Linked DNA regions of Homo sapiens: region 2 is linked to region 1. The links are contacts of gene promoters, found by promoter capture Hi-C in blood cells and fetal thymus (Javierre and others, 2016). All regions are on one chromosome and are shown on one strand. The core of a region is centred on a gene start or on the middle of the fragment in contact, and the rest is flanking DNA. Distances in the headings are between cores, read along the strand shown.

Evidence for each region. Contacts are between HindIII fragments. The CHiCAGO score rates a contact against its expected background, and 5 or more counts as called.
Region 2: a contact is called between a fragment that was not itself captured here and the fragment with the promoter of MRPS9 in region 1, in 1 of 17 cell types (fetal thymus). The highest score is 5.1, in fetal thymus.

Annotation. Positions count from the first base shown.
Region 1 is chr2:105,036,684-105,039,446 of GRCh38, forward strand. MRPS9 (mitochondrial ribosomal protein S9) reads left to right here and starts at 1,386. Exons shown (of 11, transcript NM_182640.3): 1 at 1,386-1,544. The coding sequence starts at 1,410. It overlaps MRPS9-AS2 (MRPS9 antisense RNA 2), which reads right to left and starts at 1,813. Exons shown (of 3, transcript NR_110603.1): 1 at 1,771-1,813. RefSeq lists enhancers at 793-1,002, 1,023-1,072, 1,123-1,172, 1,343-1,672, 1,426-2,368. The HindIII fragment of the contact is 6,591 bases long and covers 1-2,763 here.
Region 2 is chr2:105,739,879-105,742,641 of GRCh38, forward strand. No RefSeq gene overlaps it. Among named protein-coding and RNA genes, the nearest start is that of NCK2, 3.7 kb to the right of the region's middle. The HindIII fragment of the contact is 930 bases long and covers 878-1,807 here.

The sequences.
Region 1 (2,763 bases), core at 136-2,635:
GATTGGGAGGGTCTGGAAGAAAAAGATCTAGCTATGTTAATACAGATTCTTTACAGATGCATATCCCACCCCTCCAAGGACAGCTTTGCAGGGCCATTTCAAGATATGGCAAAGAAACATGTTTTGGGGTAAAATATTTTGATTTTCTTCCTTGTCTTGTAATGTTATGCCAGAGTCAGGTTGGAAAGTAAGTCACCATATATAGGGTTAAGTAAAACCCATCTAATAAGAATTTATGATTTGTAGGGCATGACTCCCCAAATCCTGTAGATAGGAATCTTGGGCAAGATAAAAAAATCAGAGTTTAGTCCTCCGACCTCTGCCAATTTCTCAAGATATCTTTTGCTAGTCTAAAAGCTAATAACAAAAAGAACAACAGGATGAGCATTTTATACAAGTAAATGTATTCCATTTAAAAGATTTTTCTTTATTGTGAAATTCTGCCATTCTACCTTTTTAATGCTAAAAAGTTCTGTTTCGTGAAATGATGGTGATAGTAGACGGCATTTATTTGCTTGACAACTTTGTATGATCTCAGATTTTCTGTGTGTTTTACTTTTACTGACCCTTCAAATCTAAGTGTGTGTAAACCCTTTTAAAGTGCGTTACTACATCATTTAGTATGTGTTTCGTAGAAAGCAACCTGGGAGTTAACTGCCAGGAGCACGCAAGTTTCAGAAAGCAAGACATACTCATCTCTATTCAACAATTAATCAGTTCTGATTGGGTTTCAAGTAAGGCTTAGTACCAACGCTTAGGGAGGGGCGTGCAAAAACGAGAAAGGTAGTGTTTGACCTTACCGGTTTAAGGTTTATCCTGTGCATTATACAGTTAAGAAACAACGCAGGAGAGTGCCAGGGAACCGAGAGGGGCTTGACAGTTGCTGCAGGAGAGTCTTGACTTGGAACCAGACGAACGTGGAAAGTTAGAGGAGGGGAAAACCCCTACTAGGATAAGGCAGACAGGAATCAAGGCTTGGAGCGCATCTGGGGCCCCGGCCGCCCTGCCCAGGTGGAGGAAGAGCCGGCTCGAGGTGCAGCAAGGGGGCTGGGAAGGAAGGGCTGGCTAAAGCGCCACGTGGATGTGAGTGCCAAAGAGACTAGGAGAGCGTGGAAGTGAGTCCCGAAGAGACTGAGTTCAGGACGTGAAGAGAAAGAGGCCGAGAAAAACGACCCACCAGCGATCCTTCTTGAGGTCGACACCGAGCAGGGGTGGAGTCGGATACGCCCCGCGGACACCATGCACCCAATCAGCGACGAGCTGTCGCGGATCGCGGGACACGCCCCCTGATCCAAAGGCCCGAGAAGCTCTTGCACAGGACAGCCTCTGGAACCCCGCGCCATTAGCGCCTGCGCCGTCTCTAGGCCCCGCCCCCTCACCCCTCCGGTCCTGGAGCTCCCACAGCTAACATGGCGGCGCCCTGTGTGTCCTACGGCGGAGCAGTTTCGTACCGGCTTCTTCTCTGGGGTAGGGGTAGCCTCGCCCGGAAGCAAGGCCTCTGGAAAACCGCGGCCCCTGAGTTGCAAACAAATGTCAGATCCCAGGTAAGGCCTGGGAAGACTGGAAGCGGCTTACCTCTGCCGCGCGAGGATGTGGAGCCAGCGCGGACACCTTCCCCCAGCGTCTCGCGTGCCTTCAGGCAGGGACTCTAGGATCTTAGGTATTTAGTGGAGGTCTGAGGTTGGGGGGGAGGAGGTGGGTATTGGCGTGCAGTAGCCGCTCTAGAGGTTGTTACTTGTTTTTTTGCGGGGTGCAGCGAGGGGAACTTACCTGAAGGTAGAAGTGGAGCGACCTCCTCCTTCATTTGGCTGCTGAGCTAAGTAAGGGTCGGTGCCTAGGTCTGTGTTGGGTCCAGTCCTACCCTGCCCTGCTGTCTAGGGAGGAGGAGGGCCGCGCCAGAGAAGAATGATGGGAATTGGATTCCTGCAGGTGCCTGGAAGACAATGGAGAAAGTCACGTTGTGTAGAGGACAGTGACTTTTTGAAAGTGCCTTCAATATGCGCAATTTCTGGCTTCTTAATTTTCCCGAATCCCCCTCTATGGAAAGATGCAGGCCAGAACTTGTACGTTTCGTTTAATCCAGGGAGAAGTGGGGAGTCAACAGCTGGATGGCTGATGATGCCAGTTTACTGACATGCGATCTCAGAGCAGGAAAAAGATTTGAGAGGGAAGAAACGAGTTTAGTATGGGATTATGTTTTTAGGCATCTGGGATTTCCAGTAGGTCTACGGATAGTCAAGTGTATAGCTCAGGAGGAGAACTGATTTCGAAATGCCCTGTTACCTTGTAAATGGTAACTGAGGCCTTGTAAACAAATTAAATTACCTAGGGAGAGTGTACTGAGGAGTAGGCAGAGGGACAGGGCCCTGAAGGACAAATAAGAAATAAGAGGCCTCAAGAGATTGAGAATGAGGGACCAAAGAAGCAGGAGAGAAACCAGCCAGTGTGGTGTCATGGAAAACAGGTGAATGTTTCAAGGAGGGAGAGTGATAACAAGTACCAATTATTGCAGGAAAGTCAAATACCATACTTTAAAAACTATATTTAAAAAAAAAAACATCTTTTTGTATGTTCTTTCCTTTATATTTTAATCTAGATCAACCAGTCCATTCTATCTATTCATGTGGACATTTGTTTTTTTTTTTTTTCTTACTGGAAAATGTGCTAGAAATTTTTATTTTTTCATGCATCTCTTTGAGTATATCTTTGCTACATACGCATGATTATGAGAGGGACTATATCATACAGAGTATTTTTATTGTT
Region 2 (2,763 bases), core at 93-2,592, 700 kb after region 1:
GTTATATTTGTGCCCCATTCTCTTTCTCTTTGGTCCCCCACATCCAAGCAGCTGCCAATTCATTTTGAGCCTCCCCTTCCATTTCTCCTAAAACACTTTCCCATCTACTCATTCCACCCCAGTTGGGGTTATGAACTCTCTTGGAAATGCGAACTTTTGTCTGCTCTTCCTGTCTCCAGCTGTCCTTCCGTGCATGCACCAAATGAGTGTTCCTGGGCTGAGCCCAGATGATGTCCACACTTAACTGCTTTCCTTCTTGGCCTCGCGATCCGCTCTGTGCAGCCTCTGCTCCATTTAGGCAAGTGGGCCATTCTCTGTCCCTACAGGGTCCTCCCACGTCCCCCTGTCTGCCTCAGAGTTCTGAACTCCTGCCGCTGGGAATTTTCTCCCTGTCTATCTCCACCTTTCAAAATCCTACCATTTGCATTATTCAGGGGTTTGGGTTCCAAAAAGAGGAAGTGCCTCTGGGTACCTTAAGCAGAATAGGAGAATTTACTAGAAGAATATCAAGTAGCTCACAGGGGAACTGGAGAGCAGAAGGGGTGAGAATGGAGCTGGCTAATTCCTGTGGGAGGGATGTGCTGGGACTATTTCAGCCATGGCAAATTGAATCTCACCCTCTCTTGTCCTTTTCACCCTCTCCAGTTTCACAGTCTTGAGTGGGAGGGTTCCATTGGCCAATCCCAGGCTGTTCACTCTCACAGGGCTTCTGGGAATGGAGGGACCAAGGTGCCTACTCTGCCTCCCTCCAGGGTTCAGACAGGCTTCTCTAAAACCAGGAAGGGGCTAGAGAGGGGGGCAGCCAAATTAAAGGCAGCTTCCCACCATGTAATCTCTCAAGGTCATTGCCAATGCCACCACCTTTCATAAAGCCTAAAGCTTCTCCTGATTCTCTAGACATATTTTCTTTGGTACTGTTCATATTTAGTTTTATATTATAGTTATTTGTATGCTGGTTTCATCCTTCCTTTTGGGTCTTTCCTCTCCATTTCTCCTAAACTATTTTCCCATCCTTTCACTCCACTCCAGTTTGCGTTATAACCTCTCTGAATAATGCAATCTTATATCTGCTCTTTGCACATCCAGGTGTTCTTTGGTGTCTGCACCAAATGAATGAATCCTGAAGTGGATCTTATAATGCCTTACAAATAGAACTACACCAGATATGCTTAATTGAATTGAGGGTTACAAGAGAAGGTCATGAGAAAGGAGACATGAGTGTTTACCATGTGCTGAACACACAGTTGAGACATGTTTATATTATCTCCTTTAATTCTCACAACGCTTTGCAAGAGCACTATTAATATCTGAGGCTCAGAGAGGTGAAATGACCCCAAGGCACAGGCTCCAAGGTAGGCTTTGAGCCTCTGACGTATGACTTGGACAACACCCTCAACCTTGCTTTGTGTTTTCCGTGAGTCTAAGGAGGGGTTAGAGAAGGCCTTGAATGGAGCTCTGAAAGAGAAGGACGGGGACAGGGAATTCCTAGCTGCCTTCACACCACAGAAGGCTGAAACTAGTGTGACTCAATGTGGCACTGTGGGCAGAGCTGAGTGACTGAAGCAAACAGCTTATACTGGACAGAGGTAAAAAGGAGATTGTATGGCAGGGCTAAGTTGGAGAGGCCTTTGGAAGAGAGATCATAAGATGTAATGCTGATGTGATTTTAGGCAAAAGTTTACTGCACCTCCTTCCACTCCATGTTTTTTATGCTTTCAATACTTTGTGATTGAAGACAGTAAAACAGATGTGGACACATTAATGGAGTAGAATGCAGAAAAACCTATATATTTTTAGATAAAACATAAGCTTCAAAGAAATGTCTCCCCCATGTTAAGCCTTGCAGTGGGTTGGATGTTGGCCCCAAAAGATATGTTCACCTGGAAGCCGAGAACGCGACCTTATTTGGAAAAAAGGTCTTTGCAGATGTTGTAAGATAAGGATGTCGAGATGACATCATGCTGGATTAGAGTGAGCCCTAAATTCAATGATACTTGTCTTTACAAAAAGAGAGAAGGGAAAGGACACAGGGAACCAGGTTGTGTGAAGACAGAGAGGCAGAGGTGGGAGTGACACTGCCACAAGCCAAGGAATGTCTGCAGCCACCAGAAGCTGGAAGAGGCAGGGAAGGATTGTTCTCTACAGACTTTGGAGAGAGGCTGGTGTCTTGATATCAGACTTCTGAACTCCAGAACTTTGAGAAAATAACCTCTGTTTTGTCACCTAGTTTGGGGTCATTTGTTAAGGCAGCCCCAGGAAACGAACACAGGCCTCTAAGGGCTAAATACCCCAGCCTCTCTGGGGGAAAATGCTCAGTCTTCAGTCATCAGATAACTTTTGAGGAGACTGTGGTGGGCAATGGGGAGCCATGAGAAGTTCTTGAGCACAACCAGGGACAAATGGAAACAATTTACAGGAAGGTTAGGATGACATTGATGTCCAGTGTGAGTCTGAGGGATTTAAGAAGGAAGTAATGGGAGACCAGTTGGAAGGCAGTAGTTGTGGGGAATTGAACAAGAGTTTTGGAGTCAGGTACATGCTCTGACCCCAGTTCTTTGATCCACTGTTCAAGTGATTTCATCTGTAAAATGGGTATAATACTATTGTGTGTGGATTAGAGATGATATATGTCAAGAATTCAATCAAGGTACATTATAACTATTGCTAGAATGATGTATAAGTTAGGATGCCAGTGATGGAAATGGAAAGAAAGGTGCAGTGGAAAAGATGTTTAAGAATCACCAGGACTCAGAACCATGGGGG